Linked DNA regions of Homo sapiens: region 1 is linked to region 2. Evidence: promoter capture Hi-C in 16 types of primary human blood cells and fetal thymus (Javierre and others, 2016). All regions are on one chromosome and are shown on one strand. The core of a region is centred on a gene start or on the middle of the fragment in contact, and the rest is flanking DNA. Distances in the headings are between cores, read along the strand shown. Region 1 holds the start of LOC124901935 (a long non-coding RNA gene). Region 2 holds the start of FGFR1 (fibroblast growth factor receptor 1).

The links. The method cuts DNA at HindIII sites, captures the fragments that hold promoters and counts their contacts. A CHiCAGO score of 5 or more calls a contact.
Region 1: a fragment that was not itself captured here is called in contact with the fragment with the promoter of FGFR1 in region 2 in 3 of 17 cell types (endothelial precursors, M0 macrophages and M1 macrophages); the score reaches 6.5 in endothelial precursors.

What each region holds. Positions count from the first base shown.
Region 1 is chr8:38,549,535-38,554,931 of GRCh38, reverse strand. It overlaps LOC124901935 (a long non-coding RNA gene), which reads left to right and starts at 1,184. Exons shown (of 2, transcript XR_007060890.1): 1 at 1,184-3,477. RefSeq lists enhancers at 492-581, 2,166-2,667, 5,291-5,350. The HindIII fragment of the contact is 953 bases long and covers 2,619-3,571 here.
Region 2 is chr8:38,467,222-38,472,788 of GRCh38, reverse strand. It overlaps FGFR1 (fibroblast growth factor receptor 1), which reads left to right and starts at 4,154. Exons shown (of 18, transcript NM_023110.3): 1 at 4,154-4,808. RefSeq lists enhancers at 1-16, 17-810, 3,822-3,991, 3,428-4,414 and silencers at 4,272-4,341, 4,612-4,741, 4,752-4,871. The HindIII fragment of the contact is 10,295 bases long and covers 2,024-5,567 here.

The sequences.
Region 1 (5,397 bases), core at 1,846-4,345, 83 kb before region 2:
TTGGGGAGTGCTTGACAGATTCAGGTTGAAGAAACAAAGGCAGGTACAGGCAAGGAAGGGAATGAGGGGACCGAGGAAGGTCGGAATGGCCCTGCTGGTCATCAGGACTTGTGGACCCACTGCCGCCTGCCCTACTATCCCCCACATCGTCCATCCCCCAGGCTCCAACATGGCCCAGTGGGGTCCCAGACACATTCGGGGGGCGGGCAGTGGGCGGCGTTTCAGTCTGGGAGGAGGCCTTTTCCCAGGCCCTGTGGACCTCCCCACCGGCGGGAAGCGATCTTGCCAGGTGATCCTACCGGATCGCATCTGCAGAACTACAACTGAGCCGCTCTCTCGGGTGATTTGTGTCTCAAAACCACGCCAAGGCTGTAAATCAGGTGGTAGGAAGCTCTGTCTCCTGTTTTCCTGCTCAGCCAGACGGAGACAGAATGTACTGCCACCGGCTCCCAAATCTGGAAAACCAAGTCTGATTTAAGAGGAGATGTTTTAGCAGACATTAGCTCAGGTCAGGGCTGGGGAGCAGGGTCTCTTGCCTCTCCCTTCCTGCTCCGAAGGAGAAGGAAACAGCCACCTCCTCCCCAGCTGGGGGCTGAGTGGGTGGAGAACCTGAAAGGCAGGTGCCTAACAAGCCCTGGGGTTCGGTAGCAGCTGCTTAGAGCTCCTCCCCGGGAGGCTCCGGAGGGGAATTTTCCACTGCCCCGTTCAATTTACCAGGACAATTTAGCTCAGCTATACCGCGGCCTTGACTATTTACAGTGGGGAGCGCAGGGCGGTGGAGGAGCCCTCTAAGAGTCCGTGCAAGAGGGCCGCGGCCCAGCTAGAAGGGTCTGCAGGGGGCAAGGTGTGGCGGAGCGGGCTTCAGGCGCAGGTTTTGCTTGCTTTCACCACGCCCCAGGTCTAGCTCACGGCCTGCACCTGGGATGTTGGGGCTGTGCAGAGGCGCCGTGGGTGGGGACCAGGCCCCCTTTTAGATAGGGAGGGGAGGAGCAGGGCCCCGGCTGCGGGGAGTTGGGAGAGAAGCCAAAGCGTCTCCCCCCTCCCTCTGTTCCTGCTTTCTCAGGATGTCTGAGATGCCCAGCGTGGGTGAGTGCACCCTCCCTCCCTGGCTCTGCTCCTCCCCCTCCCCGGAACCACCACCCCCTCAGCCCTGAGCTGCCGATGCCCTCGGGGTTCTGTTTTCATTCCAGGCTGTGGATCCGGTCGTGGGAAGCAGGTAGGAAACCATGATTCTCGGGGTTAAATGAAGAAATATATTTAGTGCTCACAGAAATTTAGAAATTTAGAAAGCCAAATATTGGGTTAGCCGCCAGGAATGGAGAGGGAAAAAACCCAAAGCAAACAGCAGAGGAAAGAAATTCCTACCAGACAAGGTCCTTATTCATTCTCCCAACCCCAGGTGCAGGGGCCTGCAGGGGAGAGACCCGCTGAACTTAAGACTCTGATCAAACCCCAGACTCGGACCCTGCGCTGCCCATGGGGCCGACCGTCAATATCTGGATTGGCAATGGCACCCTAGAGCTCACTAAGTTGACCCTAAAGCCCTTTGGGAGCCAAGGGTGGGGGTGGGGAAGGAATAACAAAGTAGAAAGTTCCTGGATTGAGGTGGAAAAATCAGTTTAACCTCCCTGGGCCTCATCTACGGAATGTAAGGGTTGGATTATGATTTCACAGGTCATAGCATCCTACTATTGTTTCTGCCTAAAATAAGCAGCAATAAGAATGAGTGTGAGGAAGACCACAGCAGCAGGACCCACCTGTTTCTGAGGCCTAGGGAGATGCAGTGATAGATTTCAGCTTATTCCTCATTCTCAGGTTTCTGTACCTTGACCCTCCATAGAGTGAACTTCTAGGTTCTGAGCTGACTCCTTGGAAACCCTAGACTCCAGGGACGCGCTTCTAGAACCTGCTCAGATTGCTACTCAGTTAACAGCCTGGCCCAGGAGGATTGCAACACCCAGCCTGGCTCCCAGGCAAGCTAAAGAGGGCTTGATGATGGGAAGAGGTTAAGGGGTACGTGGAGAGAAAGAAGGATCAGAAGGCGGAAACATCATAGACCTCCTGGGATGCCTTCTGCAGGATCACAGAGAAGGCAAAATTTGTCCTCCTGACTACAAGATGCCAAGATACATTTGTATCGAGCCACTGAATTCTCTACCCCTTCTGTAGAGGTGGTTGGGGAAGAGCTGCAGTAGGAAGCTGGGTCCCAAGTAATGAAGGACCTTTAGAAGCAGAAGGTGTTAGGGTGGGGGCAAAGGACTGAACTCTGACCAACCAGAAGAAAGGAAAAACTGGAGTTCCTTTCCCCTAGGTCTGCCTTTCTTTCTCAGGGTCTCTATTTACTTCTCATGCACTTGACTCTCTGCTTCCCTCTCCCTCATTTCCACAAAGGGGCCCAAGCTTCACATGCATCTCGCACCCCCGCACCTTGTGGGCAGGAAATCTGAGCACAGGCATTTCCTGTACGCTGATAAATGCCCACTGCAAAGAGCCCCAGCCTGAAGGTGGCCCTGTCTCCTAGTTATGTCCCTCCACATCCTTATCTCCCCAGGCTCCAGCCCTCACCAGCAGGGACTCAACAAACGCCATCTGTCAGATGAGTCATGGGACCAGAAGCTTGGGAGAAGACATGCAGAGCCAACCACTAACAAAACTGGCAAATGAAATAAATGCCCAGAAACCTGCTCCATCCCCAGCATTCCTTAAGTCCTATAAATTGCACCACCTTTTACCAGTTTTCAGAAACTAAAAGTCATCCTTGACATCCGTCCAATCAATCACCTCCTATTTATCTCCCAAATTCATTCTTTTTTCTTTTTGAAACAGAGTTTTTACTCTTGTTGCCCAGGCTGAAGTGCAATGGCACGATCTCAGCTCCCTGCAACCTCCGCCTCCCAGGTTCAAGCCATTCTCCTGCCTCAGCTTTCCTGAGTAGCTGGGATTACAGGCATGCGCCACTACGCCTGGCTAATGTTGTATTTTTAGTAGAGATGGGGTTTCTCCATGTTGGTCAGGCTGGTCTTGAATTCCCAACCTGAGGTGATCCACCCACCTTGGCCTCCCAAAGTGCTGGGACTACAGGTGTGAGCCATTACACCCGGCAAATTCATTTTTATAATCTTGCCACCCCCACAACCACTGCCCTCATGGACCCTGGGCACGCCTCACCCGAATTACAGAAATTCCCTCCCAGCTGGTAAAACTGTTTGTGTGTGGCTCTCCTTCATTCCATCCTCCCTGGTTTAGCCAGAGAAATAATTCTAAAATGTACACATCCCAAAGCATCTCATTTTCCTGCATGCAGTCTTTCATCATCCATTCACTAACTGGAGGACAACATCTGAATTTATTAGTGAGCATACAAAGGCTTTTCATCCGCTGAACCCAGCGCATCTGCTACCATTTCCCTGGTCTCCGGTCAGAACTAGTGACTGTCCCATAAACAGGTTCTGCTGGACTTCCAGTCAAGATGGAGCGGTGAGTTCTCTGTTCCAACCACAAACCAGCAGTAAATAAAACATTTTCGCATATAACCCAACACACACAGTTGGGCTGAAAAACAAGGCAAGCTTTCTGTGAACCAGAAGCAAGAACAGAGCCCAAAATCACTAAATGGGGCTGTGACTGACATGCTGCTGGGCTCTGAGTCCCAAAGGGTTTTAGAGAAGCCAGGAGCCCAGTTACCTTAGAAAGGGCAGTGACTAAGATGAACACCAGGGGTCTTCTGGAGGCCAAGAATGTTCTTTTTGTGCTCTGGGGGTTTATTACACAGGAGCATTCACTTTGTGAAAACTCATTGAGGTGCCCCTTTACGATTCATGTGCGTTTCTGTATATCTGTTATATTTCAATAGAAATGTTTACTTGAAAAACTTTGTCCTGGGAGAAAGCCCAGAGGAAGACCCTACTTTTAGATGCTGGAGACCAGGGTAGGGTGAGGTAAAGTGGGGTGGAAATAGAGCACAGCCTCAAAGTGAGGACCCATGCCAAGCCACCCACAGCTCCTCATCTGGATTGGCATCATTCTGGCACAGAATAAGGAACCATGAAATAACACGTAAGAGCTGGCGCTGGAACAGCGGCTTAGGAAAATGGGTGGAGGCAACCACAAAACTATAAACTGTGCATTCAGGAAGAGAAGAAAAAAAGACAAAAACAAAACAAATCAAAGGGGGAAAACTGCCACTAGAAATGGATCTGCAAATCAAAATTCCAAAACACATTTTAACAATGAAAAAGTCTAATGCTAAGAAAGACAGTAAAATCAATAAACAACATTAATTCATTCCAGTTGACATCAGTTTTATAGAGCAGAAGTCATAAAAATCTACCAATTTTATAGACTAGTACTAAAATCTATCAGTTTCATAGAGGATAGGTTTTGAAGTATATATACATTTACATTTCTCAAAGAAATCATAAAAACATATTAAAAATAAGCAATAAATATTAGATGAAAATAGGAATGGAACAAGAAGAAGTGGGAATAAAAAAGATTAGGAAGGCCAGGCGCGGTGGCTCACACCTGTAATCCCAGCACTTTGGGAGGCCAAGGCAGGCAGATCACCTGAGGTTGGGAGTTCGAGACCAGCCTGACCAATATGGAGAAACCCTGTCTCTACTAAAAATACAAAATTAGCCAGGCATGGTGGCACATGCCTGTAATCCCAGCTACTCAGGAGGCTGAGGCAGGAGAAGCACTTGAACCTGGGAGGTGGAGGTTGCAGTGAGCCGAGATCATGCCATTGCACTCTAGCCTGGGCAACAAGAGTGAACTCTGTCTCAAAAAAAAAAAAAAAAAAAAAAAAGATTAGGAAAAGCCTGGGCACGATGGCTCATGCCTGTAATCCCAGCACTTTGGGAGGCCAAGGCAGGTGGATCACCTGAGGTCAGGAGTTTGAGACCACCCTGGCTAACATGGTGAAACACTGTCTCTTCTAAAAATACAAAATTAGCCAGGCGTGGTGGCGCATGCCTGTAATCCTAGCTACTCAGGAGGCTGAGGCAGGAGAATTGCTTGAACCTGGGAGGTGGAGGTTGCAGTGAGCCGAGATCACACCACTGCACTCTAGCCTGGGTGACAGAGTGAGACTCTGTCAAAAAAAAAAAAAAAAAAACTCAAGGAAAACGAACAAACTGGAAATCTTAGACACAAAAAATAGCCATTGAATTGTTTAAGCCTCAATATTCAGGTTAAACTCTAGACTGAGTGTAGTCAGAGAAAAAATGATGAAATGGGGGATAGTATGGAAAAATTTATCCAAAATGAAATACAAAGAGGAAAAGAAGGAAAAATATGAAAGACAAGACATAAGTAGATTAAGAGACTCTAGCCTAAGAGAGATCTAGAAGAGGACAGTAGAGAAGCTAGCTTTGTGTATTTATTTTTATTTTTTGT
Region 2 (5,567 bases), core at 2,905-5,404:
CAAAAGGCTTGGCTGCCCACCTGCTCCCAGGACCTGTGAACCATCCACTTTGTAGGGAAAACCCCAGACAGTTCCCTCCTCCCGAATCCCCTTCTGCAACCAGCTCTCGGAGTGGAGACTCTGCCAGCTCTCACCACATCCTGGGGACTCTTGAAGCCTGGGCTGGAAGTTCTGCAACCTTGCCCCATGTCAATGGTGCTTACTTTACCTGACTTGTTCCATAACAAAGAATTGTTAATTCTGCAGTATCGACCCAGGGTAGTGGGGTGATCATTCCTGGTAGGCACAGCTGAGCCCTAAAATAACAGAACCCAGATAGAGCAGGGGCAGAAGGAATGTGGGGAGAGGGGAAGAGGAGCTCCCGTCTGCCAGGGAAAACTCTGAGGACACAAGTAGCTGGAGGAACAGGGAAGGGATTTCCTACAGTGTTCCCAAACAAAGAGAGCTGGCCGGGCTTTGGGGAGAGCTCCGTTTCCCTTCGTTTCATTCAGCAGTGGTCTCCTCCTCCCACAGATGTGGGAGGCAACAGGCCCCCAACCAGTTATCAGGCCCTCCAGCATGAGGGCCTTTGTCTCCCCTTAGACATGTAGCTGGCAGGGCGAAGGGCCGACAAATCCTCCCTGACCCTCCCAGCTCTTTGTTATCTCAGAGGGAAGGTTACATTTCTGTATGGGAGGCAAGGTGCCAGGAGGCCTCGGGCAGAACAGAGACAGGCAGAGCTGCTGTCTGACCCCTGTTGCCTGGAGCAGCTCAGGGCTGCCCTAGGGACACTCTCCCTCCACTGGCCTGGGGCCCTTCCAGAAATGGGAGGGCTACATTTCAGAAAGAGGGCGAGTAGAGGAGTGGGACAGAAAAGGAGCGAGGTGGGCTGGAAGGATAAAAGCAGCCAACTCTCAATTATTCAGAAACCTGTCTGCAGTGTGTGGACAGCCCATGCCTTTGCTGAGTTTCTCACCTTCTCTGTTCAGCTGCCATCAGCTCTTTCCCTGAGAAGTGGAGGAGGGACCCTGGCAAGTTGGCCACTTGCTTTCATTTTGGCTTCTTGATAAATCTATAGAGGATTTTTCAGCAGCAGGCCCATGTCCCTCAACCCCAAACAAGCATTTAGATCATTATCTTTCTGTTTAAATCAAGAACGCATTATTTAGCCTTTTATTTGGGGTTCAAGATACTCCTACAATGGTTCTAAATCATAAGAAAAAGGGGCTTGATTTAAAACCCCTTGTTTTGGGCCAGGAATGGTGGCTCACGCCTGTAATCCCAGCACTTTGGGAGGCCAAGGTGGGCAGATTACCTGAGGTCAGGAGTTCGAGACCAGCCTGGCCAACATGGTGAAACCCTGTCTCTACTAAAAATACAAAAATTAGCTGGGCATGGTGGCAGGTGTCTGTAATCCCAGCTACTCGGGAGGCTGAGGCAGGAGAATCGCTTGAGCCCAGAAGGCAGAGGTGAGCTGAGTGAGCTGAGATCGTGCCATTGCACTCCAGCCTGGGCAAAAAGAGCAAGACTCCATCTCAGGAAAAAAAAAAAAAAAGAAAACAAAAAAAACCCTTTTTTGAGAAGAATTACGGAGCAAAGTAGAAAAATAGTAGCTGGGTGTTAACATTAAATGCTGGATTTTTTTCATGGCTTGTCTTCCCAATCATATTCCCTCAAATTGTGTTTCCTCCTCTGGTAACCCAGGTTGGTTATGCTTAGCAAGTCCATGAACAATAAATATACATGGAAAACCTCCTGTGTAGAATTGGTCAGACACCTAGATAAGATCCTTGCCCTAAAGCAGTTTAGAAACCAGTTAGAAAGAAAGCAGAGTAAGGAAAACCACTAACAAAGCACGGTATCAACTCAGTGGATAGTCAGCAAGTGAGCAGGGGGTCCAGGGACTGACAAAGCTGGGATGGGCAGGGAAGGCCTCTTGGGGGTAGGGTGTGAGTATGGCCTTCTTACAAGCGTGTGATGTGTAGTAATTAAAATGCAGGAGGCCTAATGGGTGGGCAGCTTACATAGGAGTATAAACCAAGCTTGACCAGGAGCTGAAAGGTTAAATGGTGGCTCTTAGGGGAAAACCCTATAAACAGTGGCTGAAGTTCATTTATTCAACAAAGATATGAGTTCTTGTTTCTCATTTTTTGTTTTGTATTATTTTGTTTTGAGACAGGGTCTTACTCTGTCGCCCAGGCTGGAGTGTAGTGGCTGGATCATAGCTCACTGCAGCCTCAAACTCCTGGGCTCAAGCCATCCTCCTTCTTCAGCCTCCACCTCCAGCTAATTTTTAAAAATATTTTGTAGAGACAAGGGCTCACTTTGTTTCCCAGGCTGGTCTTGAACTTCTGGCTTCAAGTGATCCTCCCGCTTCGGCCACCCAAAGTGCTGGGATTACAGGCGTGAGCTGTAATTTAGTTGTTTATTTACTCATTTGTTCAACAAATACTTATTGAATATTTGCTCTTTGGCCAGTCAAGGGATTTCATGAGTGTCTACTATGTGAATAACACTGTGTTGGCCACTAGTCTGTCACCTACTGGTGGATTAGAAAAATAGCGCGAGGACCATTTTTTCTTTTCTTTTCTTTTTTTTTTTGAGACGGAGTCTTGCTCTGTTGCCAGGCTGGAGTGCAGTGGCACAATCTCGGCTCACTGCAACCTCCGCCTCCCGGGTTCAAGCGATTCCTCTGCCGCAGCCTCCCCAGTAGCTGGGATTACAGGCAAGCGCCACCATGCCTGGCTAATTTTTTTGTATTTTAGTAGAGACGGGGTTTCACCTTGTTGGCAAGGATAGTCTCGATCTCCCGACCTCGTGATCCACCCGCCTCGGCCTCCCAAAGTGCTGGGATTACAGGCATAAGCCACCGCACCCGGCCAACTCTTTTCTTAAATTAGCCAGGGAGGCGTGGGTGGGTTGGGTGAGGAGTTGGGTGGGGGGATCTCATTCAGTATTCAAACTTCTACAAGTTTCGGGGTTGAGGTGGGTGATGGTAAGGGAACAGGCCCTGCCACTACCTTTCATAGTGACTTCCATTTGTGTAATATTTTTGGTCCACTGAGAGCTATTATTTTATTTGATTCTTATGACCATCTTGTGAAGGAGTATCAACAGATACCCCGTTTTGATTTTATCAGATGCATGATTTGTCCTACATCAAACTTCATAAATGATGGACAGAATGGAGGAATCCTTCAGACCAAGTGCTGCCTACTTCCCACCCCAATGGTGGCCTCAGCCTGGGCTCACATCACACGCCCCAAGGAGCCTTGGAAAAAATAAAGGCTCTTGGCTCCTTCCTGGGACAGCGTGATTCCTCATGTCTGAGCAGGCCCATGAACTTGTATTTTTCAGACGTTCCCTAGGACCCGTGTCCATCTGGATTAGGGAACCACTACATTATACCACTTCGCGGGAAGACTCAGGGGGAAGCATTTTAGCCACTTTCCTGTGTTCCACAGTACTGGAGGGTGTTCTGAGTGGGCTGTGATTAATTTCCAAACCAACCACACGTCTCCCCTCAACTCCCACTGCTTACTCTTTGCTTCCTAGACATTCACTGCAGGCTGGAGACTTCTGGAAGCCAACAGCATCGCTGTAGAATTTACAGGGTCCAGTTCCCGGTGGACCACAAAACCTAAATTATGTGGCTGGGGAAAGCTGAAATCCAAGGGAAGGGTTTGAGGAGGGGCTGACCTTATAATAAAACCGGCTTGTATTTACTAAGTGTTAACTATGCGCTAGGCCCTCGTTGACGCCTCAACTCTATGTGAAAAGCACTATTATCCCCCATTTACAGATGGGAAAACAGAGATTTAGAGCGCGAAAATCATTTCCCCAAGGCGCACAGACTCCAAAGCCCACGCTACCAGGTACAACCTCAAGGCTGCGGCGTCTCTTCACCTGCCCCCTAGCCCCCAAACCGCTGCTATGTCTAGGGCCTGACATTCCGGCGCCCTCTGGGACGTGCTCAGATGCAGGGGCGCAAACGCCAAAGGAGACCAGGCTGTAGGAAGAGAAGGGCAGAGCGCCGGACAGCTCGGCCCGCTCCCCGTCCTTTGGGGCCGCGGCTGGGGAACTACAAGGCCCAGCAGGCAGCTGCAGGGGGCGGAGGCGGAGGAGGGACCAGCGCGGGTGGGAGTGAGAGAGCGAGCCCTCGCGCCCCGCCGGCGCATAGCGCTCGGAGCGCTCTTGCGGCCACAGGCGCGGCGTCCTCGGCGGCGGGCGGCAGCTAGCGGGAGCCGGGACGCCGGTGCAGCCGCAGCGCGCGGAGGAACCCGGGTGTGCCGGGAGCTGGGCGGCCACGTCCGGACGGGACCGAGACCCCTCGTAGCGCATTGCGGCGACCTCGCCTTCCCCGGCCGCGAGCGCGCCGCTGCTTGAAAAGCCGCGGAACCCAAGGACTTTTCTCCGGTCCGAGCTCGGGGCGCCCCGCAGGGCGCACGGTACCCGTGCTGCAGTCGGGCACGCCGCGGCGCCGGGGCCTCCGCAGGGCGATGGAGCCCGGTCTGCAAGGAAAGTGAGGCGCCGCCGCTGCGTTCTGGAGGAGGGGGGCACAAGGTCTGGAGACCCCGGGTGGCGGACGGGAGCCCTCCCCCCGCCCCGCCTCCGGGGCACCAGCTCCGGCTCCATTGTTCCCGCCCGGGCTGGAGGCGCCGAGCACCGAGCGCCGCCGGGAGTCGAGCGCCGGCCGCGGAGCTCTTGCGACCCCGCCAGGACCCGAACAGAGCCCGGGGGCGGCGGGCCGGAGCCGGGGACGCGGGCACACGCCCGCTCGCACAAGCCACGGCGGACTCTCCCGAGGCGGAACCTCCACGCCGAGCGAGGTAAGAGCCGCGGCGCCCCCGGATCTGGGGCGGGCTTGGCGTCCCGAGCGGCCCCCGGCGCCGGAGCCTCCCGGCTGCGCGCTTTGCCCGCCGCAGCCCAGCCGGGGCCGGCGCCTCCCTCCGCTCGCCGCCCGCCCCTTTCACCTCCTGGCTCCCTCCCGGGCGATCCGCGCCCCTTGGGTCTCCCCTCCCTTCCCTCCGTCCGCGTCTCCTGCGCCCCCTCCCTGCGCTCGTCCCGCCGCTCTTCCCGCCGCCCAACTTTTCCTCCAACTCGCGCTCGGGAGCTGGCGAGGCGGCGGCGGCTCCTCAGTGAGTCCCGGGAGGGACAGGCCCGGGGCGAAGGCGGCGAGGCCCGCGGTTTCCTGGACTGGGGAGGAGGGCGGGAGTGGGCGGCGAGGTGGGATGCGTTGTGTGTGTTATGTGTGTGTGTTGCATTCCACTCCATGTCTTTTTGGTCCCCTTTTGGGGATTCACCCCCAATTCAGCAGGTAGCTTTGGGCTCAACGCTAAAAATCCGGGGCATTCCTAAGTCCTTTTCCACCCCCGGGAAAGCCTGGGGTGCGGGTTGGGGTCGGATGGGGTGGGAGATGAACTGCGGAGGACGTGGAGGGCTAGGTTAGCTTCTCTTGGAATAGGTTTTAAGGAGGTGTCGTCACCAAATGGCTGAATCTGCTTGAGCTGAGAGCGAAAAACGACTCCCCTTTCCAGAAGGGGTGATCTTATGACTTGGACGGTCTCTGAAAGGGTCGGAAGTTTGGG